7 separate regions of the Homo sapiens genome follow, and all the other regions are linked to region 4. The links are contacts of gene promoters, found by promoter capture Hi-C in blood cells and fetal thymus (Javierre and others, 2016). All regions are on one chromosome and are shown on one strand. The core of a region is centred on a gene start or on the middle of the fragment in contact, and the rest is flanking DNA. Distances in the headings are between cores, read along the strand shown.

Evidence for each region. The method cuts DNA at HindIII sites, captures the fragments that hold promoters and counts their contacts. A CHiCAGO score of 5 or more calls a contact.
Region 1: a contact is called between a fragment that was not itself captured here and the fragment with the promoter of FAIM in region 4, in 4 of 17 cell types (activated CD4 T cells, total CD8 T cells, naive CD4 T cells and 1 more). The highest score is 8.7, in activated CD4 T cells.
Region 2: a fragment that was not itself captured here is called in contact with the fragment with the promoter of FAIM in region 4 in 11 of 17 cell types (naive CD8 T cells, activated CD4 T cells, total B cells and 8 more); the score reaches 9.5 in naive CD8 T cells.
Region 3: a fragment that was not itself captured here is called in contact with the fragment with the promoter of FAIM in region 4 in 17 of 17 cell types (total B cells, naive CD8 T cells, total CD4 T cells and 14 more); the score reaches 24.1 in total B cells.
Region 5: a fragment that was not itself captured here is called in contact with the fragment with the promoter of FAIM in region 4 in 1 of 17 cell types (M0 macrophages); the score reaches 5.8 in M0 macrophages.
Region 6: a contact is called between a fragment that was not itself captured here and the fragment with the promoter of FAIM in region 4, in 4 of 17 cell types (megakaryocytes, neutrophils, erythroblasts and 1 more). The highest score is 8.4, in megakaryocytes.
Region 7: a contact is called between a fragment that was not itself captured here and the fragment with the promoter of FAIM in region 4, in 16 of 17 cell types (M1 macrophages, total B cells, total CD8 T cells and 13 more). The highest score is 12.2, in M1 macrophages.

Annotation. Positions count from the first base shown.
Region 1 is chr3:138,206,299-138,209,448 of GRCh38, forward strand. All of the region lies in intron 1 of ARMC8 (armadillo repeat containing 8), which reads left to right. Among named protein-coding and RNA genes, the nearest start is that of ARMC8, 21 kb to the left of the region's middle. The HindIII fragment of the contact is 2,140 bases long and covers 600-2,739 here.
Region 2 is chr3:138,960,849-138,964,483 of GRCh38, forward strand. No RefSeq gene overlaps it. Among named protein-coding and RNA genes, the nearest start is that of FOXL2NB, 15 kb to the left of the region's middle. The HindIII fragment of the contact is 2,097 bases long and covers 496-2,592 here.
Region 3 is chr3:138,903,661-138,906,882 of GRCh38, forward strand. The region is part of intron 1 of LOC124906289 (a long non-coding RNA gene); the gene reads right to left. Among named protein-coding and RNA genes, the nearest start is that of LINC01391, 39 kb to the right of the region's middle. The HindIII fragment of the contact is 8,530 bases long and covers 1-3,222 here.
Region 4 is chr3:138,606,876-138,610,543 of GRCh38, forward strand. It overlaps FAIM (Fas apoptotic inhibitory molecule), which reads left to right and starts at 1,896. Exons shown (of 6, transcript NM_001033031.2): 1 at 1,896-2,062. RefSeq lists a silencer at 1,984-2,443 and an enhancer at 2,544-2,633. The HindIII fragment of the contact is 4,797 bases long and covers 1-3,477 here.
Region 5 is chr3:138,107,483-138,110,683 of GRCh38, forward strand. All of the region lies in intron 1 of DZIP1L (DAZ interacting zinc finger protein 1 like), which reads right to left. Among named protein-coding and RNA genes, the nearest start is that of DZIP1L, 6.5 kb to the right of the region's middle. The HindIII fragment of the contact is 959 bases long and covers 895-1,853 here.
Region 6 is chr3:138,978,001-138,981,640 of GRCh38, forward strand. No RefSeq gene overlaps it. Among named protein-coding and RNA genes, the nearest start is that of PRR23A, 26 kb to the right of the region's middle. The HindIII fragment of the contact is 4,943 bases long and covers 1-3,640 here.
Region 7 is chr3:138,886,363-138,890,022 of GRCh38, forward strand. It overlaps the pseudogene ATP5MC1P3. Among named protein-coding and RNA genes, the nearest start is that of PIK3CB, 53 kb to the left of the region's middle. The HindIII fragment of the contact is 5,394 bases long and covers 1-3,660 here.

The sequences.
Region 1 (3,150 bases), core at 420-2,919, 400 kb before region 4:
AAAATTCACTTCCTAGCCACATTTCAAATTTCAATTGCCATATGAGGCTAGAGGCTGGCTTACTGGACAGTGCAGCTCTTTACCATCTGGCGCCTGTTCTCTGCCTCATCTCCTGCTGCTTTCTCCTTTGCTCATTCTGCTCCAGCTATAATGGCCTCCTATTCTTTGATTATGGCAGATACTTCTCATTTTAGGGCATTTGAATTTGCTGTTCTTTTTGCCTAAAAAAAGCTCTACCCCTAGGTAGGTGCACAGTCTGCTCCTTCACCTTCTTTAGGACTTCGCTCAAATGTCACCTTTTTAGACGTTCTTTCTCTTATCAACCCATTTAATATCTGTACAAATTGCCTTCTCTCCCTACCTCTTATATTTCTAGGCTGCCTTCTGAAAGAAGAGAGAAGAGGACTGGGAGGGGAGAGGTGACCTGATCTACAAGGAGCAGTGAAATATCAGAATTGTCCTATACAGATAAATGAATACATTAGACAAAAGCGTAGAGTAAGATAAGGTTGAATAAGTGATCATACCCCTTCAGCTTGCTTGCTGTCTGAGCAACTTATATGATTATTTTTGCGTATACATAACAATTTCAGATACTAAGCTTCTTAAATGCAAGGCTCTGCCTTAATGTCCTCTTATACCTTCTTTGGCATCTAGCATGTAACTTTGACCAAAAGGCAGTGTGAAATCTCCAATTGTGGTCCACCTATTGGTTAGCCTTTTGTGTTTTACATCCTGCGGTGCCTCTCTATCCTCTGTTCTTTTCAGTGCCAGCAACTAGTATACTTGCTGATTGTTTACTTGTATTGGCTTTGCATGCCCTGTGGCAATGATTGTGACATTGATTCTTTCTTTCCTTGTCCATCCTGGTACACTCTTACTCATTTTCCAAAGCCAATTCCTGAAAGAAGCCTTCCCTGATTCCCCTGGTTTACAAATGTCCTCCTCAGTGCCGCCTTTATGTTGTGTATACTATAATTCTTATATTCTAATAGGGAAATAATCATGTAAACATAGTAACAAGAGAATATGAATTCTTGAGAACAGGGACTGTGCCTTGCTTATCTTCTTTATTAAAGATAAATTTATTTTTAATGCTTTCCTCAGTGCATGTTATATTGAATGAACCAGGCACAGAGCAGCAAAAGAATTGCTATTAATGGGGGAAACTTATGTTAAGATACACATCATTGAGAGGTAAGAGATGTGGAGCTATAGACAGTAAAGATAGAACAGTAACATCAAAATCAATCTCTGGATAGGAGGGTCTGAGGTACTTAGAACTTACTATGTCAGAAAACCAGGAAAACATGTACTCAAATGGAGTGGCAAAACTTACCTGTTTGTATTATAGTAGTGCTTTTTTTCAGTTCTTCTGTAGCTTTTGGTTGTCATATATTGTTTCTTGATATGTTCGTACAGTTATTTGTGTCCTAACTGTACATTTGAAGATCTGACAAATGGGTAAAGATCATGAGAAGCCCCATTTGTAAACCGAGGGATTGAGCAGATTATTGTTGAGAGTCCTTCTAACTCTGTGATTCTGTTATTTTGAGGAAAACATGTGTTAGCAGGTGCTTTAATGGTACCCTGGTGGGCACAAGAATTTTCACCACTTTTGCCTCTTTGCTTCCACTGTTTGTTCTTTAAAAATGAAGTACATGCTAAAAGCAAGCATTTGAGCTGGATGTAGTGGCACATACCTGTAGTCAAGTTACTTGGGAGGCTGAGATGAGAGTATTCCTTGAGCCCAGGAGTTTGAGATCGGCCTGGGCAAGACGGCATCTCTGTTTTTTTTTTTTTGTTGTTGTTGTTGTTTTAAAGGAGGTATTTGAGTTGCCTTTGAGGATATTTTGGTAGCAAATTCAGAATACGAAAATATGTGTTGGCTGGGCACAGTGGCTCATGCCTGTAATCCCAGCACTTTGGGAGGCCAAGGCGGGCGGATCACGAGGTCAGGGGTTCAAGACCAGCCTGGCCAACATGGTGAAACCCCATCTCTACTAAAAATACAAAAATTAGCTGGATGTGGTGGTGCGCGCCTGTAATCCCAGCTACTCAGGAGGCTGAGGCAGGAGAATTGCTTGAACCCGAGAGGCGGAGGTTGCAAGTGAGCCAAGATCATGCTGCTGGACTCTAGCCTGGGCAACAGAGCGAGACTTCGTCTCAGGGGAGGGGGGAAGAAAATATATGTTGACTTAGTTAACTATATTATCAGAAAACTAGAGTTTGTGTAGTTCTCCAGAGTTATTTTTGGTGGCTCAAAAGTTTTAAGCTGGTACTGTGTCTTGGTAATTAACTTTTACTGATTTGGAGTTCTGAGTAAATTGGAAAAGTTATTTCTTCCTCCCTATAAGAACTTATTGCTAACGGCGGGGGAGTATATAAAGATATTTCAGCAGGCATCAGAAAAAACAAGCAGGGGACAAAACTTTTTCTCTGGTTCTTAAATATGGATTCTTTATTTTAAATAATATGAAGCATCAAAAATTAAATATTAAAAAAGAGTTACCCTCCAAAATAAGTATTACAAGAAATAACACAATAGAAAAACTTCACAATACAAATGAAAAGGAGGTAAGTGTCTTCCCTTTGTACTCTTTCTAATTCTACCCACCCTTATCCAGTTCAGTTGAGACAGCTTGGGTGGCCTACAGATCACTCTAATTCTTAATTGTTTTCCTTCACAGAAAGTGTGACAACTCCTTTATTTATTTTTACTTCTGCCTCCAGCAATGAAGCTTCTCTACATTAGTCTAAGGATTTCCTCTTGTACCTAGACTACCCCTTACAGACTGTTTCATGGAGTCCTCACTCTTCCCTGGCTGAGAGCCAGATTTTGTCCTTTTGTGTATACTAATTTATAGAAGTAATATTCCTATCTATTAATTATACGTACATGACACCCAGCAGTTAGTGAAGAAACTTAGCTTGCTGCTAAGTGTATATGCTAACATATTTGCCTAGGTCTTCTGTTGGCAAAACTTCTAGGGCTCGCCACAAAGGTCCCACTGTCTAGCTATGTGTTTAGTGAGAACTAGGAGTCTTCTTTCTTTTCTGTCTTACTGTTTATCTTTGTCATGAGCTTTTTTTCAGACTAATGTAATAAAGTATTTACAAAAATATACTTAATATCTTCCTGATGATTCT
Region 2 (3,635 bases), core at 294-2,793, 350 kb after region 4:
TTTCAGCCAAGTCCTGGCCAAGTCCAGTAAAACCAAATGTTTTACTGATATTTCTCCATTTTTCCTGCCTGGAAGGGGACTTCTTTTTCTTTTTTCTTTTTTGAGACAGGGTCTCCCTCTGTTGCCCAGGCTGGCGTGCAGTTGTGTGATCATGGCTCACCGCAGCCTTGGCCTCCTGGGCTCAGGTGATCCTCTGACCCCAGCCTCAGCTTCCGGGATAGTTGAGACTACAGGCATGCACCATTACACCTGGCTAATTTTTTGTATTTTTTTTGTAGAGACTGGGTTTTGCCATGTTGCTCAGGCTGGTCGCGAACTCCTAGGCTCAAGGGATCCACCCACTTTGGCCCCCCAACATGCCTGGGAGGGGATTTCTGTTAGGATCCCACTAGATTTTTTTTTTTTTTTTTTTTTTTTTTTTTTTTTTTTAGCTCTGAGGGCTTTGTAGCAGGATGCTTGCAAACTTTAAACTATATCTGCCTTCTGGGAGGAGGAAGCTTCTACAACGTAAGTGGGTTTACTTGAGATTGACTATCTCCCAAGGACTGCCTTTAGCGCCACCCCCTGGTTGGTAGAAGTTGTCATTCATGCATTTGAGTGAACGTGTGTATCCAGGGCACCTCCTCTTTATACGCCCCGTGCTGGGCGTGAGGATTTGGAGAAGGGGAAGGTCTTGTTCTTGCCCTTGGGGAGGTACAGTTTAGTGGGGAGTTGGATAAGTAAACAGACAAAAGCAGTTTACTTTGATAAATACTGTGATGGGGGAAGGTTGAGGCTGTGGAAACATGGGAAGTCTTCCTGGAGGAGGTGATACTGGGGCTGCGTCCTGAGGGATGCGTAGGAGCCAAAGAAGGTGTGGGGAAGGCATTCCAGTAAGAGGAAGCATGTGTGTGAAGGCCCAGACCTGAGGTTCCTTCCCTCACAGGGAGAGCACCTGTGGCTGGGGTTGGCAGTACCCAGTGTAGGAGAGGTGTGTCAGGCAGCGGGTCATGAGCTCGGACAGGCTGACAAGGTCTATATCACTGAGGGCCTAGGGTGCCTCCTTGAGGGGCTTGGACTTTACCTTGAGAACATGAGGGGTGTAAAATGGGAGTGAAAGAGAGGTTTTATATGTTAAGAAGATGAAGGTGGCTGCAGTGTGGAGGATGGAGGGAGGGTGCTAAACCTGAAGCAGAGTCCAGGTGAGAGAAGATGGGCCTGCAGTAAGGAAGGGGCAGGCAGATGGAGACAAGGGTCCACCTGGAGAGACATTTAGGAGATGGGATCTATGAGTCTTGACGGCTGATTAGGTGTGAGGGTGAGGGAGGATTGAGCACCTCCCAGTTTTCTGACTTGGTCTACTAGGCATAGGTTGTGGCTACCCTGAGACGAGGAAGGCTCGAGGCACAGGTTTCTTGGGAACATGATGATCTCTGTGTGGAACACATTGCATTTGAGTGCCTGAGGGACATCCAGGGGGAAATGTCTTGGAGGCAGTTGGACATGCGGGTCTGGACTCAGGAGGGAGGTTTGGGAGTTCTTAGTCTACAGATGAGACAAGATGAAGTCACTCAAGGAGGGTGTGGAGAGACAGAGAGGAGGAGAACATTAAAGAAAAGAGATACGTAGAGTTGGGGGAAACTAAAATGATGGAGCAGGAGTAGCTGAAGAAGCAGAGGTGGCCAAGTGTGTAGTGCCACGGAAGCCTTGGGAAGATAGTGGTTAGGGTCCACTCAGAACCCTCTCCAAGACCCACCTTCTCTGGCTTCCCAGGAGTTGGGTGCTTTGCCCCCCTATGTGGTGATTGGTACAGAGAGACTCCGTCTCTGTGATGGTGAAAATTTAGGTGATACACTGTAGACTAGTTGCTTGTCAAAGATGGGAGTCTACTTATGTGCTTTAAATGCTCTTAGTTATAATTATTCTTACTAGTTGTCAGTTACTTTACAAACATTATCTCATTCAACCTTCAAACAACTCTTTTCAGATAGATATTATTTTCTCACTTTACAAATGAGGAAATTGTGGCTCAGAGAGGTTAAGTGTCTTCCCCAAGACCACATAGCTAGTTAGAGATGGAGCTGGGATGTGGAGTCAAGTATTCTTGCTTTACATGCCTCAAGTTTTGTTTGTTTTTTTTAAATGCCTTATGCATTTTTTCTTTAGTGCACATTCAGCAGTGGCTGCCTCCTGCATTGGCATCTGGGCCTGGCCTGCTTGCCCACACCCTCCAAGCCTCCAGGCCATGGGGACTTCAGAAGAGGCCTGTATCCCAGATTAGCCCCAAAGACAACATGCTCCTTAAGAAGAAAGAGGAGGCCCAGGCACAGCCAAGGCCTGTGATGGGAAGGGCTTCCCGGGAATCAGTGGGGAACTTCCTCCTGGGAAAGCCATGAGAGGGGCAGTTCCTCTCCTGGGCCAGGCGTCAGGGAGTCAGGGCCCCAGCTGTTCCTGCCCAGCCGCCTGCAGCCCTGAGCACCCACCGGAGACAGGAGGCCCTGCCTGCTCACTGCCCATTGTCCCAGCACCACAGTGCCGCTTCCCATGCGCCTCCTGTTTACACAGGAAGCCCTGCTCTGGGATGCCACCTCCCTCTCCTGACGGCTGGCCCCAAGCTTGAATTCCTCACAGGCAGCTTCAGTGAGCGAGGGCTAGAGTAAGTTATCACTGCTCAGTGACTTTAAAAATTAGTAAAGCAGAGTGGGTAAAAGCATGGTCTTGCAGTGTGACTGCCTTGGATCTGAACTTGGCCACTCATTAACTGAAGCACTTTGGGTATTCATGCCAACGGTATGAACGCAGATTCCTCCTCTGTAAGATGAGGAGTATTATGCCTACCTATCTCACAGGTTTTTCGTAAGGATAAACAAAATATGGAAGTAAAGTGCTTGGAACATAGTATATGCTCAATAAATTACACATCTCACAGTTGTTATTTACCTCTTATGTTTAGTTGCACCCAATTTTAGCTGCACTCCAAATGCTGGTGATAGTTTAAACTATGACCTCCAAATTCTGTGACACTCCTCCCATTGAGAGGCGGGGCCAATGCCCACTTCCCTTGAATCTGGGTGGGCTTATAACTACCTTGACCAATGTGGTACAACAGGAGTGACACTGTATTAATTCCAGACTTTGTTTTGGTTGCTAGAACATTTATACTTGGAGCCTGGAGCCACCGTATAAGAATCTAACTACTCAAATTTGGCAGGCAATGAGGATTGTTCTTCTTGAAGCATGACCAGAGGGGTGGGAGTAGTTTTTTCCAGTTCAATAAAATTTGTTGAATGGGATTTTGAAATAGTAGGCTGAATGCAAACTGGAATTCCCTCCCTTACCAACAAAAGATGGCAAAAATTAAAAAGATAAAATAATAAGCACAAAGTTGCACTTAAATTATGAAGGAATATTCTTGTTAGAACGGAAATGGTGAAATGTTCCTGAAATAAATAAGTAAATGGAAAGTGACAGCCATAAGCTGAAGGGCTTCTGAGTTGCATGCCCAAAACATGTGCAGAATTGTCTCAGAAGAGGCATACACAATCAAGAATCACCAATCAATAAACATTTGTCAAGCACTTATGTGCTAAGCCTTTGTCACTATTATCTGTATATTTTTACAGTCAATGCTTGTTTAGAGTTACTCAGATGTTTGC
Region 3 (3,222 bases), core at 483-2,982, 300 kb after region 4:
AAAATTAGCCAGGCATGGTGGCACATGCCTGTAATCCCAGCTACTTCGGAGGATGAGGCAGGTGAATTGCTTGAGCCGGGGAGACGGAGGTTGCAGTGGCCAAGACTGTGCCACTGCACTCCAACCTGACCCACAGAGCAAGACTCTGTCTCAAAAAAAAAAAAAATTTGAAGCAGATTTTATTTTATGGAACTGTTTAGACTTATATAAAAATTGAAGATATAGGCCAGGCGTTGTGGCTCACACCTGTAATCCCAGTACTTTGGGAGGCTCAGGCGGGTGGATCACTTGAGTTCAGGAGTTCAAGACCAGCCTGGCCAACATGGTGAAACCCCATCTCTACTTAAAATACAAAAATTAGCTGGGTGTGGTGGCGTGCACCTGTAGTCCCAGCTACTTAGGAGGCTGAAGCAGAAGAATCACTTGAATCCAGAAGGCAGAGGTTGCAGTGAGCCGAGATCAAACCACTGAACTCCAGCCTGGGTGAACAGAGTGAAACTCCATCTCAAAAAAAAAAAAAAAAAAAAAGAAAAAATTGAACATATAGTTACCCCTTTACTCCACTCTGTTTCTCCTATTATTCCTATTATTAATCTTATGTTAGTATGGTCCATTTGTTCCAATTAATTAACCAATATTGACCAATGATTATAAATGAAGTCCACAGTTTATTCAGATTTATTTATTTATTTTTAAATTTAGGGACAGGACCTTCCTCTGTCAGCCAGGTTGGAGTGCAGTGACATGATCATGGCTCATTGTAAATTCAAACTCCTGGGCTCAAGTAATCCTCCTGCCTTGGCCTTCCAAAGTTCTGGGATTATAGGTGTGAGCCACTGCACCTGGCCCAGATTTTCTTAAGTATTTTTTTTTTTTTTTGAGCTGGAGTCTTGCTCTGTCACCCAGGCTGGAGTGCAGTGGTGCGATGTTGGCTCACTGCAACCTCCACTTCCCAGTTTCAAGTGATTCTCCTGCCTCAGCCTCCTGAGTAGCCAAGATTACAGATCCATGCCACTATGCGCGGCTAATTTTTGTGTTTTTAGTAGAAACGGGTTTCACCATGTTGGTCAGGCTGGTCTTGAACTCCTGACCTCGTGATCCGCCCGCCTTGGCCTCCCAAAGTGCTGGGATTACAGGCGTGAGCCACTGCGCCCAGCCGATTTCCTTAATCTTCACCTAATGTCCTTTTTGTAATCCCGGATACCATTCAGTGTATCACACTGCATCTAGTTATCATGTCTCCTTAGGCTCCTGTTGGCTTGGGGTGGTTTCTCGGATTCTCCTTGGTTTTGATAACCTTGACAGTTTTGATGAATATTGGTCTCGTATTTTGTAGAATGCTCTTCCATTGGAATCTGTCCAATGTTTTCAATGTTTTTCTCACATTTAGACTGGGGTTATGGATGTTTTTTTTTTTGGAGATGGAGTTTCACATTTCACTCTGTTGCCCAGGCTGGAGGGCAGTGGTGCAATCTTGGCTCACTGCAACCTCTGCCTCCTGGGTTCAAGTGATTCTCCTGCCTCAGCCTCCCAAGTAGCTGGGATTACAGGTGTCCCCCACCACACTTGGCTATTTTTTTTTTTTTTTGAGACAGAGTCTCGCTCTGTTACCCAGGCTGGAGTGCAGTGGCGGGATCTTGGCTCACTGCAACCTCCTACCTCAGCCTCCTGAGTAGCTGGGATTACAGGCTCCCGCCACCACACCCAGCTAATTTTTGCATTTTTAGTAGAGACAGGGTTTCACCACGTTGGCCGGGCTGGTCTCGAACTCCTGACCTCAGATGATCCACCTGCCTTGGCCTCCCAAAGTGCTGGGATTACAGGGCGTGATCCACCGTGCCTGGCTGGTGGTTATAGGTTTTTGGGAGGAAGACCACATATTCATCACATCATATCAAGGTACATACAATCAACATGAGTCATCACTGTTGATGTTGAGTTTGGTCACCTGGCTTCATCAGGTTTCGCTACTGTAAAGTTACTTTTTTTTCGCCCTTTCCACAGTGTTCTTTTTGGAAGGAAGTCACTATGCCCACTCCTTAAGTGTGGGAGTTATGTTCCACCTCCTTGAGGAGTATGTCAGCTTCCTAAGGCAATGGTGACAAAGTACACAAACTGGTGGCTTAAAAGAACAGAAATGTGTTCTCTCATGGTTCTAGAGCAGCAGTCCTCAACCTTTCTGGTACCAGGGACCAGTTTCATGGAAGACAGTTTTCCCACAGATGTGGGGACTGGGGGATGGTTTTGGGATGAAACTGTTCCACCTCAGATCATCAGGCATTAGTTAGATTCTCATGAGGTGTGTGCAACCTAGATCCCTTGCATGTGCGGTTCACAATAGGGTTCACGGTCCCAAAAGAATCAAATGCTGTCACTGATCCGACAGGATGCAGAGCTCAGGCAATGCTCATTCACCTGCTACTTACCTCCTGCTTTGCAGCTCGGTTCCTAACAAGGCATGGACTGGTATTGGTCCTCAGCCCAGGGGTTGGAACCCTTGTTCTAGAGGCTAGAAGTCTGAAATCAAAATGTCAGCAGGGCTATGCCCTCTCTGAAGGTTCTAGGGGAGAATTTGATCCATGTCTTCTGTCTTAGTTCACTTTATGTTGCTATAACAGAATACCTGAGACTGGGTAATCTACGAAGAACATAGACTTATTTGTTACAGTTCTGGAGGCTGGGAAGGCCACGTTCAAGGGCACTGCATCTGCTGAAGGCCTTCTTGCTGCTCATTCCATTGTGGAAGGCAGAAAGACAAGAGAATATGCTTGAGAGAGAGAAGGGAATGGGGGTCAAATTTATTATTTTATCTGGAACCCGCTTCCAAGATACCTAACCAACTCCCACAATATGGTATTAATTTATTGATGAGGGCAGAGCCCTCATGACCTAGCAATCTCTTAAAGATCTCATCTTTCAACACTGGTATACTAGGGATTAAGTTTCCAACACATGAACTTCGGGGACAACTTAATTTCTGGTGCCGCTGGCAACCCTTGGCCTTACAGACACATCATCACTCCACTCTCTGCCTCTGTGGGCACATGACGCTCTCCTTCTGTTCTCTTTGTCTTTGTCTGTGGCTCTCCTCTTCTTATAATGACATCAGTCGTACTGGGTTAGGGCTCACACTAAATATCTCATTTTAACTTGATTCTACCTGCAAAGACCCTATCCAAATAAGGTCACAGGTACCAGGGTTTAGGCTATAACATATCTTTT
Region 4 (3,668 bases), core at 646-3,145:
ATCCAAACCATAGCAGCCCCCAAATATGCTGGGCCCTCAAAACCCTCCAAAATCCCTTCACTTATCTCTATTCTATGACTGGGCCTACTCTCCACAGGGACCATTCACTGCTCCTCACATGGCCCACTCAACAACTTTTCTCGCTCTCTGTAGGCAACACTGTCTCCTCCTTAAATTGAAAATCAAGGCCACCTAAGACACTACCCAGGCCTGCTCTTCATTCATTCATTCATTTAATAAATATTTACCAGAGCTAACATGGGCCTGCACGGTACAGATGTGAGACATACAAGAATGAGAGCCAAGCGGCCATGGTCTCTGCCTTCATGGATCTCAGTCTACTGTTAAGTTACACATTAAGCAAAAATTACACAAATTATTGCACACCCTGAAAGGGGCTAGGAAGAAGAATCCCTGGTGCTGCAATTTTTGTGTTTTTTTTGTTTTTGTTTTTGAGACGAAGTATCACTCTGTGGCTCAGGCTGCAGTACAGTGAGGCGATCTCAGTTCGCTGCAACTGCCACCTCCCAAGGTCAAGTGATTCTCCTGCCTCAGCCTCCTGAGTAGCTGGGATTACAGACGCATGCCACCACGCCCGGCTAATTTTTGTATTTTTAGTAGAGCTAGGGTTTCACCACGTTGGCCAGGCTGGTCTCAAACTTCTGACCTCAGGCAATCCGCACCTGGCCTCCCAGAGTGCTGGGATTACAGGTGTAAGCCACTGTGCCCGGCTGTTTTTTTTTTTTTTTTTTTTTGAGACAGAGTCTTGCTCTTCGCCCAGGCTGGAGTGCAGTGGCTCAATCTCAGCTCACTCCAACCTCCACCTCCCAGGTTGAAGCGATTCTCCTGCCTCAGCCTCCCAAGTAGTTGGGACTACAGGCATGCACCACCACGCCCCTCTAAGTTTTATATTTTCAGTAGTGACGGGGTTTTGCCATGCCTGCCTCAGCATCCCAAAGTGCTGGGATTACAGGCGTGAGCCACTGAGCCCGGCTGTTTCTTTTTGTGTGTGTTTTTTTTAATGAAACAGGGTCTCGCTCTGTTGCCCAGGCTGGAGTGTAGTGGTGCAATCACAGCTCTCTGCAGCCTCTACCTCCCTTCAGGGCCCAAGCAATTCTCCCACCTCAGCGTCCCAAGTAGCTAGGATTACAGGCCTGAGCCGCTAATTATTTTCTTTTCTTCTTTCTCATTCTCTCTCTCTCTTTTTTTTTTTTTTTACCATGTTGCCCAGGCTGGTCTTGAACTCCTGGACTCAAGAGATCCGCCACTCTGCCTCCCAAAATGCCGTGATTACAGGTATGAGCCACCACACCCAGCAATGCTGCAAGTCTTATGGGCCAGGATAGTGTAATCTAAGAAATGATATATGAAGAACTCTCACAATAGGGAAGAGGTGAGGAGTGTCCAGGCAGAGAGAAGAGCATTTGCAGAGGCCCTGGGCGAGAAGAAACCTGCATCCTTTAAGGACCTAAATGAAGCCAAGCAGGCAGAGGCTAGATCACACATGGGGGCTTCATGCCCACCTTAAGTAGTTTGGGTCTTTAAAAAAGGAATGAGACTCATAAAGAGGTTTTAAGGAGCGAATGCTATTGCTGCCATGAACAGATATTCCTTCCCCATAGCTGCAGAGCAGGCACAGGGCTGTTTTTGCCCGCCAGTATGTCCCCACCGTCTAGCCCAGAGCGGGGCCAGCGGCCGGCTCCTACCCACACTTGCTGGCAGGAAGACTGGACGCACTGCGGGACATGGTGATGTCCTGGGTTGGGGCTGAGGAAGGCCTATGCGCGGAGGGTGCGGCCTTCGGCTAAGGCAGAGGACCAGGGTTGGGTCCGTGGCGGCGGGAGGGGTGGCCTCCTGCGCTGGTCGCCCCAGGGGACCTGAGAGGCGCGACAAACAGTCGGCGCGTTTGGTACTCGCGCCTGCAGAGCTTTCAACCTCCGCGCCGGCTGCGCCTGTTTCTCGGCCAGGGGAGCAAGGCCACGCGGCCTACGCAGCCGAGTCGGAACCAACCGGTTGTTTGGTGAAACCTACCCCAGAGCCTCCCGCGGCCCACAGAGCACAGGTGAGGCAGCAGACCGGGTGGGGTCGGTGTCGCGCCTGCGCCCGCCCGGACGCCTCGGGCCCGCCCGCTCCGCACCCTGGAAACCCCTGCACTCAGCCCCCCGGCGTCCCCACGCTCTCGGCCCTGCTGCGCCGGCGGCGGCCATCTCTGGGCGGCGGCGGCGGGCGGTGTTTGCGCGGTCGGTGAGACCCGCGCGGGTGAGACGCTGGGTGAGTTCCGGACGCTTCCAGCCGGCCCGCCGGTGATCCCAGACCTCGGGGCGGGACGCGGCTCCCGCTCACCGCCGGCAAAGGTGGAGGTGCGGCGGGGCGCGGGGCGCGGGGCCAGCCCGGGGCGGTGCGGGGGCGTCCCTGCCTAGCGAGGCCCTGCCCCGCGACCTGCCGCACCCTCCTCCGGCCTGTTCGCGACCTCTAAAGATAATACTTCTCACTGTCGAAAACGTGGAACAGAAAGCAAGGAAGCAAGCAAAGCAGCCGTGCCGCTGCTCCCCAGAGACAAGCTGCGTTAACATGAGGGTGTATATTCTTCCAGATGGTTTTTCCTTGTAACATGAGCGGGGCTTGTTTTTGCAGAACCTGCATCATAAAGTGCTGAAACTCTCTCTCTCTCTCTCTCTCTCTCTCTCTCTCTCTCTCTCTCGACTCTCTCTCTCTCGACTCTCTCTCTCTCTCTCTCGACTCTCTCTCTCTCTCTCTCTCTCTCTCGACTGTACATTCCTGTGTGTCAGGTTGACTACCTCATCCATCCCTGACTCTTGGCATGGCTTTGGACTGTGATTTACTAAATGTAGTTTCTCCCTGATGGTGAGCGTACAAGTGGTTTTCAGTTTTTAGTTATTGCAAAAAGTAATTCATTGAGCATCGTTGTATCTGGGTTTTTGAGCGTGATCATTTCTGTAGAAAGAATCGCACAAGATTCGTTCTAAAACAAGATAGAATCCACGGTCTATACCACAAGGCTTCTGGTATAGATTGTGAAATGGCCCTCAGAAAAGTTATTCTCCTTTTTGTACCTCCAGTAAGTAGCATTTGGGAATACTTGGCTCGAGGAGCTTCCTGAGTGATTTTACTGGAGACCCCCCTCACTTCATAAGGGGCCGGCCCGGAGATGAAGATGTCAACACTTGAGTGTGACTTGCATTATTGGCTGGCCCTACCTGGGGGCCTTTGCTGAAAAGGGAACCATGAGCATCTTAGTAACTACTATCATCTAGTAATTTTTAAACTGACTTCGGTTTATCTTGAACGAACCATTTCAGTCCCCAGTAAGAATAAACCTAAGTTAAGGCAAAATTCAGGTGGATTAGATGAACAGTGGCAACGTGTTGGTGTTTAAGTCATGCTCTGAAACTTAGGTGTTGGGTTGCTAGGGAAGGGATTTTAAAAGATTGATGGGTACGTATGAGATACGCAAAAAGCTTTCTTTAAAGACATGTAAAAAGTTTCAAGTGCTTGGTATCATCTCCATCAGTGAAAGTAAGTGGAATATGGTTTTTCATCTTTTTAAATTTACATTTTAATAAAATATTTGCAAAAATAGAGGGTTTTTTGTATTTATCATTTTCCAGTTTGGTCATAGAATCTTGAAAATTAAGTACATGCATAAG
Region 5 (3,201 bases), core at 124-2,623, 500 kb before region 4:
AATACATTTCTTTTCTTTATAAATTACCCAGTCTGTGTCATTCTGTTGCAACAGTACAAAATGGATGAAAACAGGAGACCAGATTTGAAGTGTAATTGTAGGTTCATCTGGCACCAAAGCTTATGGACTCTGAACCACTCAACATTGATTCTTGGGGCTATTCCTCCTAAAATATTGCTTTGATCAGATTATCATCCTTTATCCCTTAAACCTCCAATTCATCCATTTACTCACTCCTCATTTATAGTATGCCTATGTGGGCCCAGCCCAAGCTCAGGTCCTGGGCTATGGAGCCATATTAACCACACAGCTGCTCCCCACCCTGGAGCTCAGCATGGCTCCCTATTCCCACTGTACCAAACGCAAACCTCTCAGCCTGGTCTTGAGACTGCCTACAGGATGCCACTGGCCCACCTTTTCAGTTTCAGATCCATCCTTCCCTTTCTCAGATACTCTTTCCCAACAAGTACTCCAAAAAGAAAACCAGCCTGACATAAGCACCCCCACCATGGCCATGAGAAGACTAGCACATTTCTGCCATGTTATGAAACAGTGCAGTGGCGCGATCTCGGCTCACTGCAAGCTCTGCCTCCCAGGTTCACGTCATTCTCCTGCCTCAGCCTCCCAAGTAGCTGGGACTACAGGTGCCCGCCACCATGCCTGGCTAATTTTTTGTATTTTGAGTAGAGATGGGTGACATGATACTCACCATGCTTAGCTCCAAAGCTGCAACTGTGCCACCAGAGCCTCAGAGACGACTACTCACAACAAGCTGTGCCTCGGAGCAACAGCAGGTTACCAGGCATGCTGTGGGCAAGGGTAATAAGACACCTGCTTCCTGATGTCCCAGCTCTCAGGTGAGCTCACCTGAGAACTGCACTGTTTAACTATTTAAGCTTTGGCGTCAGATGTTTGCCAACAGTCCTCTCTCTAATAATAAAGTCAAGAACTCTCCATCAGCCACTCTCTCTCTCATCTCTCCTCCTACCTTTTTGAATGCTCTTCCTTAAACAGTGGCTATTCTTTCCCCTTTCTTTTATGACAGGGTGTGCCACTGCCCCCTTGATATTCTGCTATCCACCTGCAACCCATTTCTCCCTGCACGCTATCCCTAGGAATGAGCTCACAGCTTCAGCTACTATAGGCTTGCTCTAGGCTGAGCCTCAGTCACCCCCAAATCTCTTTCTCTCTAGCCCCTCGGTCTCTTGTGATCTTATACCCAACCATTCCATACTGATAATGCCAGGAATTGCAAACCCAAGTTCCACCAGGGCCAGAAAAGTAACATTAAATGCACAAAATGTAGCAGATATGAAAGAAACCACAGTACATGTGTGATGATAAATGGCAACTCATTCTCCATCTTATTGTCCAAGGTACAATAAGGCAGTGGTTCTCAAAGTGTGGTCTCTGGACCAGCAGCATCAGCATCACCTGGGAATTTGTTAGAAATGCAGATCCCCAGACTTACTGATTTAGAACCACTAAATCTGTGGAGTGCTGGGCTAGGAAACATTAGGGATTGTGGCAAACCTGAGAGTGCAGGCCCTGTTTAAGGTGGGAAACCACTATTGAGCTCCAGCCACAGGGGAATGGATTTTGTGTTCCTTATTGGCTAATTCCAAATACACTGAGTGATATTCAAAGACTTTGATGAACTGCTTCCAAAAGTACCTCTCTAGCTGCATCTCCCATTTACCATATTACTTGCCTTCCACACTTTCACACTTCTGGGCTGTTTATTTTATGTATAGACACTGTTTTTAAATGCTTTACAAAGAAGCACTCATCTATTTCTCAGGACAAGCCCTTGAGGAGGTACTATTATCATCTAAGCCACAGAGAAATAAAGAAGCTTGCCCAAGATCCAGAGGCAAGATTCACACCCAGGCAGCCTGGCTCCAGTCTGGGCTAGCCTCTATTCTATGCTGCCTCTTGGTATAGATGGTCCTTTGCCACCTCCTTTTGTTCCAATTAAAGGTTGACACATGTTTCAAGGCCCTGCTTATAAATGATTACCACCATATGGGAGTGTAAATTAGTTCAACCATTATGGAAGACAGTGTGGCGATTCCTCAAGGATCTAGAACCAGAAATACAAATTGACCCAGCAATCCCATTACTGTGTAGGTACCCAAAGGATTATAAATCATTCTACTATAAAGATACATGCACACATATATTTATTGCAGCACTATTAACAATAGCCAAGACTTGGAACTAACCCAAATGCCCATTAATGATAGACTGGATGAAGAAAATGTGGCACATATACACCATGGAATACTCTGCAGCCATAAAAAATAATGAGTTCATGTACTTTGCAGAGACATGGATGAAGCTGGAAATCATCATTCTCAGCAAATTAACACAGGAACAGAAAACCAAACACAGCATGTTCTCACTCATAAGTGGGAGTTGAACAATGAGAACACACAGACACAGGGAGGGGAATATCACACACCGGGCTTCCTGATATCCCAGCTCTCAGGGCTTAAAACCTAGATGACGGGTTCATAGGTGCAGCAAAACACCATGCATGTATACCTATGTAACAAACATGCACGTTCTGCACATGTATCCCAGAACTTAAAGTAAAATTAAAAATAAAATAAATAGATCCCATTTGTCTATTTCGGCTTTTGTTACCATTGCTTTTGGTGTTTTAGTCATGAAGTCCTTGCTGGAAACCATCATTCTGAGCAAACTATCACAAGGACAGAAAATCAAACACGGCCTGTTCTCACTCATAGGTGGGAATTGAACAATGAGAACACTTGGACACAGGAAGGGGAACATCACACACCAGGGCCTGTTGGGGGATGGAGGGCTGGGGGAGGGATAGCATTAGGAGAAATACCTAATGTAAATGACGAGTTAATGGGTACAGTAAACCCACATGGCACATGTATACATAATGTAACAAACCTGCACGTTGTGCACAGGTACCCTAGAACTTAAAGTATAATAATAAAAAAAAACTTCCCACAATAAAATAAATAAATAAATAAATGATTATCACCATAAATCCCTGCTACGCTCACAGTCAAAGTTCCCTGCCCCTCCCCTGGGCTTCCAGAGCGCACAGCATACACTTTGTCTGTTAGGGTGTCTCTGCAACATTCATATCTCCATCCCATCAACAAATGATTCCTGAGGCCCTACTAAGTGCCAGGCATCATGACTGGCACTCGGGATCAA
Region 6 (3,640 bases), core at 420-2,919, 370 kb after region 4:
GTTGCAGGCATCAAAGCCTGGCTTCACATGTTTCCCAAAGCATGTAGGAATATGCCAACCTGATGCTCTTTTCCAGTGGTTTCTTGAGGGGACAGCAAACTCCTTATCCTTATCCTTGTGGATCCCTAGGGCCCTGTGGAGCACAGTTTAATACTACCCATTCCAGAGTTTAAACTAAGATTCTATAATTTTAAAATAATCTAAGTATGACAAATGGACCAATAAGCAAGTTGTGAACCAGAATTACTACAAGGGGTAGGAATAGCTCTGTCTTTAGAGTCAGACAGGCCTAAGTTGCTACTGCCTACTGTGTCACAACTTCATGCTTAAACTTCCAGAACCTCATGAAGACGGGGTCATTACTGCCTCATGCCATTGGTGTGAGCATCTGTGCTAAAGTCTAAATCATCAGTAAAGACTGACACAGAGTCAATACTTAATAAGTGGTAGCTCATTTGACTCAGCAATCCCATTGCTGGGTATATATCCAAAAGAACATAAATTGTTCTACCATAAAGGCACATACACGCATATGTTCATTGCAGCACCATTCACAATAGCAAAGACATAGAATCAACCTAAATGCCCATCAGTGGCTGACTGGATAAAGAAAATGTGATACATATACACCATGGAATACTACACAGCCTTAAGAAAGAATGAGATCATGTCCTTTGCAGGAACATGAATGAAGCTGGAGACCATCATCTTTAGCAAACTAATGCAGGAACAGAAAACCAAATACTGCATGCTCTCACTTATAAGTGGGAGAAAAATGATGAGAACTCATGGACACAAAGAGGGGAACAACAGACATTGGGGCCCACTTGAGGGTGGAGGGTAGAAGGAGGGAGAAGAAAAAAATAGCTGTTGGGTATGACACTTAGTACGTGGGTGATGAAATAATATGTACAACAAACCCCCGTGACATAAGTTTACCTATATAACAGACCTGCATATGTACCCTTGAACCTAAAATAAAAGTTAAAAAAAGTAATAATTATTATATTTTTATTGTTGGATATGCCCTATGACACTAGCCTGTTCAACATTTTGGGGAGTCAAAGGGGTGACTAGAGAATAGAGGAGAGGAGGGAGAAGAGAGGGTACTCATGGGAGGAAGGAGGAACTTTGCTGTTGATAAAAATCACACCCATAACAATTTATTGAGAGTGTCTATGAGCTGGTACTGTGTATGGAGATTATAGCAAGTCCCTCTTGCAACACTCCCACACTGCTGGCTACTGTGTTCCTTTTCTTTTTTCTTTTTTTTTTTTTGAGATGGAGTCTTGCTTTGTTGCCCAGGCTATAGTGCAGTGGTGCAGTTTCGGCTCATTGAAACCTCCGCCTCCTGGGTTCAAGAGATTCTCCTACCTCAGCCTCCTGAGTAGCTGGGACTACAGGTGCGTGCCACCATGCCCGGCTAATTTTTTGTATTTTTAGCAGAGATGGGGTTTCACCGTGTTAACCAGGATGGTCTCGATCTCCTGACCTTGTGATCCGCCCGCCTTGGCCTCCCAAAGTGCTGGGATTAAAGGCATGAGCCACGGCGCCTGGCCCTGTGTTCCTTTTCTTACAGGGTGAAAACTGAAGCTCAGAAAGCCTTGGCAATTGTCCAAATCTCCAGGCCTGTAAGAGGACCTAGGACTCAGCTGTCTGATGTCAAAGTCTAGGCTCTCAGCCCCTAAGGGTCACATGTCCCCAAATCTGAGGTGAAGAGTGCCCTCCTTCTGAGCCAAAGATGGCCTCGATCTGGAGATCCACATCTTGTGCTGGGGGGAGCCTGCTACAGCTGCCAGTTGCAGTGCTGGAGAAATCCTTCCTGTCACAGTGTTGTGTACAAAGCCAGGGAATGATTTGGCCAGTTTGGGTGATCCCAGCTTTTCTGGTTCTAAGCCCAGATTCTAAACTCTGGCTGCACACTAGCGCCACCTGGGGAGCTTTGAAAAACTCACACCACCCAGGCCACCCAGGCCACCCAGGCCACCCAGGCCACCCAGACCAATGACATCAGCATCTCCTGGTGGGGCCAGAACATTAGTATCTTGTTAAATTCCCTGGTGATTCCAAAGAGCATTCAGGCCTGAGGACCTCTCAGAAAGGAAACAGCTGGTTCTGGAGCTCTCATTCCCTTTCACCGACGGGCTGGGGTGGGGGCTGGGAGTGAAGGAGGAGTTTCGAGGCAGGAATTGTGCATGGGTTAGTAAAAGGGGAGAGATTAAAGACTGACAAAGAATGTGTGGGGTGTGCGACATGGAAGCTCAGACAGATTAAGTACCGGATTCGGAGTGCACACAGGGTCAGTGGCAGAACTGGGAGTCATCACATTGAAGTGGTGCCAAAATGACTGGGATCTTTGTTACTGGGGAGACCCCACGCTCAGTGGTGGAGTTTTCCAAGACCCAGTTCTGCACCTGATTCTCTTCCCAACCCATCTTCTCACTCAATGAACTTTTGAACTTTGTTCACACCCAGGGCTTTCATCACCACCTGACTCTCAAATTTTTGTTTCCAGTCATGGCTGGTCCTTGGACCCTCAAACCCATATATGCAGTGACTCACTTGACATTTCCACTTGGATCATGCCAAGACATCTAGGGCTTCACATGGCCAAGACTAAACTCATGTACTGCCTTTACCCCCAACCTGGTCCTTCTGCAGATTCCCAGGCCTGGGGACCAGGAATCATACTTGACTCCAACACCTCTTCCTCTACCTGTCTTCTTAGCTTTTAGTACCTTTTAAGGACCTGTTCATCTTGGCCTCTTGTCTTCATCTTCATTGCCGCCTCATTAGCCAAGCTACCATCATCTTTGGTAATTAATTCTTTTAATTTTTTACTTTTTGGTAGTTTATTTTTGCTTACATGATTATTTGATTATGTCTGCCTCCCCCACTAGCTTATACACTGTGTAAGGGCAGGGACTAGCTTTTTTTTGTATCCTCAACATCTTACTTGGCCCCTCAGTAAATAGTTGTTGAGTGAATAATCTGTTTTAAACTTTTTATTCATTTTGAGGGCTGTTGATATAATCACTGCTTCATTATGGCTTGCTGCTTTCAGGACGATGAAATCACGAAGCTGAAATCAGAACGATGTGCTTAGATGACTTTGCATTCCATGAAGTCGGGGAGCATAGAGGTTTTGTCTATGGAGGTTGATCAAGGGGGTCTGAGGGAACCACATGATGTGAGCTGAGACATGGACACACGACATGGCAGGTGAGTGCACACACACACTCACAACCATCCTTGGGCAGCCCTTCTCTTACTTCCTTGCTCAACAGACGTTATCTTTATTTGGAGAATCAATTGTGAAATCAATCCCTCACTATTTCTCCAATAATGCAGCTAATAAAAAGAAAAGCTATTTTGATGGTGTCTGGTTTTCAGCTAAAAGGTGGGTCAAAATAGCAATTTTATCAGCTGCCCTTTGAAAGTGCTTCTCTTGGTCACAGCAGTTCACAGGGAGAAACACGATGATTCTGACACCATTCTTGATATTAGCTCCTGCCTGAGGTAACATATTGTGTTACCTCTGAAACAGGGCATCCGTGGGTAGCCAGCAAGGTCAAGTCAAGATTATATCATGCCACCATGTCATCAGAACATGGCTCAGTTCTCCCCTATCACCTGTTCC
Region 7 (3,660 bases), core at 975-3,474, 280 kb after region 4:
ACTGCTAATTTTTGTATCAGGAGAGGAATAGGAGTTTAGGGCTCTAGTAGCTACTGTGGTGTGTTCTCTAGATGCCCCTCTTTAGTACAAACCACTTATTCCAGTTGCCAGGAATGTTGCCTGCTGACAGCTTACTGTATAGTGCCTCGCCAGACTGCGATTTTAGTTGTGGGTAGCTGCTTTGCGAAGTTTAAGTTCCTGCCTAAGGACAGATTGCATCCAATGACTGAATATTATGGGATATAAATGCATCTCCCCTTTGCCTCAGTTTGGGACAATTCTGAATGGCCATCCTAGCTTCAGAGCTCCCTGAAGGACTGCTGAAGCCTCTGTTGCAACTGCATCACAACCTAACTTCTCTCTGTGCCAGATCTTGCTTTTCTCACTGCCTTACACGTTTCTAAGAGCATTTGCCAATGAACCATCCGCACACAAGTTTGTTCCAGAGTCTATTTCCTGGGGTTCCTGGCCTACAATGGGCAATAATGATTGGGTGGTGAGGAGAGATGAGTTTTTCACATTTTGCTGTCTTAAGCAAACTTGAATAGTTTTTAAGAATCTATTATATCACTTTATTTTATTTATTTATTTATTTATTTATTTATTTAATTTTTTGAGACAAAGTTTTGCTCTTGTTGCCCAGGCTGGAGTGCAATGGCGCAGTCTCGGCTCACTGCAACCTCTGCCTTCCGGATTCAAGTGATTCTCCTGCCTCAGCTTCCCAAATAGCTGGGATTACAGGGGCCTGCCACCACACATGCCTACTTTTTGTTGTTGTTGTTGTTAGACAGAGTCTTGCTGTGACACCCAGTCTGGAGTGCAATGGCGAGATCTCAGCTACTGCAACCTCCGCCTTCCAGGTTCAAGTGATTCTCCTGCCTCAGCCTCCCGAGTAGCTGGGATTACAGGCACGCGCCATCATGCCTGGCTAATTTTTGTATTTTTAGTAGAGACGGGGGTTTCACCATGTTGGCCAGGGTAGTCTCAATCTCCTGACCTCGGGTGATCCACTTGCCTCAGCCTCCCAAAGTGCTGGGACTACAGGCGTGAGCCACCATGCCTGGCCCTAATTTTTGTGTTTTTAGTAGAGATGGGGTTTCACCATGTTGGCCAGGCTGGTCTCGAATTCCTGACCTCAGGTGATATGCCTGCTTTGGCCTCCCAAAGGGCTGGGATTACAGGTGTGAGCCACTATGCCCAGCCTATTATATCTTTTATATCACTTTAAATTTGTGTTATCTTTTTTTTTTTTTTGAGACATTGTCTTGCTGTGTTGCCCAGGCTGAAGTCCAATGGCACGATCACAGTCACTGCAGCCTCAACCTCCTGGGCTCATGCAATCCTCCCACCTCAGCCTCCTGAGCAGCTGGTACTGCAGGTGCTGCCACCATGCCTGGCTAATTTTTGTTTTTTTGTTTTTTTTTTGTAGAGATGGGGTTTCGCTATGTTACCCAGCCTAGGTGCTTAAATATTACCAACAAGTAGAAAACATAACAACAAAGTTATAGTGACTTTTAAATTTTAATTTAATTTTGTTATTATTATTATTACTATATATATATATATATTTTTTTTTTTTTTTTTTTTTTGAGATGGAGTCTTGCTCTGTCCCCAGGGTGGAGTGCAGTGGTGCGATCTAGGCTCGCTGCAACCTCTGCCTCCCGGGTTCAAGCGGTTCTCCTGCCTCACCCTCCTGAGTAGCTGGAACTCCAGGCACGTGCCACCACGCCCAGCTAATTTTTGTATTTTTAGTAAAGACAGGGTGTACCATGTTGGCCAGGATGGTCTCAATCTCTTTTTTTTTTTTTTGAGACAGAGTCTCACCTATCGCTCAGGCTGGAGTGCAATGGCGTGATCTCAGCTCACTGCAACCTCCGTCTCCTGGGTTCAAATGATTCTCCTGACTCAGCCTCCCGAATAGCTGGGATTACAGGTGTACACCACCATGCCCGGCTAATTTTTTGTATTTTTAGTAGAGATGGAGTTTCACCATGCTGGCCAGGCTGGTCTCGAACTCCTGACTTCGTGATCCGCCTGCTTCAGCCTCCCAAAGTGCTGGGATTACCAGCGTGAGTGACCACACCCGGCCGGTGTCGATCTCTTGACCTCATGATCCACCTGCCTTGGCCTCCTAAAGTGTTGGGATTACAGGCATGAGCCACTGTATTATTTTTTTTCTAAGAGACAGGGTCTCCCTATGTTGTGTAGGCTGGTCTTGAACTCCTGGGCTCAAGGGATCCTCCTGCCTTGGCCTCCTACAGTGCTAGCATTACAGGCGTGAGACACCATGCACAATCTATGTTGTAGAAACTTTAAAAAAAGAAACCCTCATGTCCTGCCCACATTCCCACTCAACAGTCTCACTACTGCAGTACAAGAGTCATTTTATTTCTACATACTTCCCTTCAGCAGGGATCATATACAGTCATATTTTTGCCTGGCTTGCTGTGGTGGAAAGTTTCACATGGTAATACAATCATTTATCATAAAGGTGAATTTTTCACTGCTCTATAAAGATGACTAAAGAAAGCAAGGTATAGCTGAACCAGAACGGGCATTCAGAAAACTCTGACAGCTGTTGTCCCAGCCTTGGGTCTAAAACAGGTTAACTTAGTTGTATCTTCTGTAAAAGGAAATTACTGGAGGAAGTTTGCTTAACATAACACAGCCTCTTAGCCAAAGCACCAGAACTGAAAACTAGGGTTCTAAGTTCTGGATTCCCAGTGCAGTATTTGTTCCACCAAGAAAGTCGCCCCCTTGCCCCGCCTTTTTTTTTTTTTTTAAAAAAAAAAAGAGAAACGTGTTTAATGGTAAAACTCAGCACATGCCAGCACCAGGAATGTTATGGAGTTGTAGCAGCAAGGGTGAGTAGGTGACCCCCATGGAGCTTCACATGGCAAAGAGGATGAGGAAGGTGACTGTCAAACAGAAGAGTCCCATGGCCTCAGATAGGGCAAAGTCCAGAATGGCATAGAAGAGCTGTTCCTTGAGAGATGGGCTGATGGCATAGTGAATGATCAAGTTGCCAGACACCATTGCTATGCCAGCCCCTGAGCCAGTTACAATCGTGGGTTGGGTGTGGTGGCTCACACCTGTATTCCTAGCACTTTGGGAGGCCCAGGCAGGCAGATTGCTCGAGCTCAGGAGTTCACGACCAGCTTGGGTACATTGCAACACCCGGTCTCTACAAAATATCAAACAATTAGCTGGGCATGGTGGCATGCATCTGTAGTCCCAGCTACTCAGGTGGCTGAGGTGGGAGGATCGCTTGAGCCCGGGAGGTTGAGGCTGTAGTGAACTGTGATTGTGCCACTGCACTCCAGTCTGGATGACAAAGTGAGACCCTATCTCAAACCAACCAACCAATTGTGATTGCCCCAGCATCAATAAACTTGGCTGCTGTGTCAATGTCCCAGGAGACAACACTGGTCTGGAACTCCTATCTGGCCACGTGGAGCGGAGAGCTGCCGTAGGAAAGCTGTTTGGATAAATTATTTGGCCTATTCAGAAAGGAGGCAGACACAGACCTGAGTAAACCCCTAGTACTACAGCAGATCAGAGCCTGAGAAATGAGTAGTGCCCCAGGGGTCTGCATTTTTTCAGTCTGCACTCCCACTGCCCTGCATCTCCAGCTTGGCCCACAGCATTCACCCTGCCCAA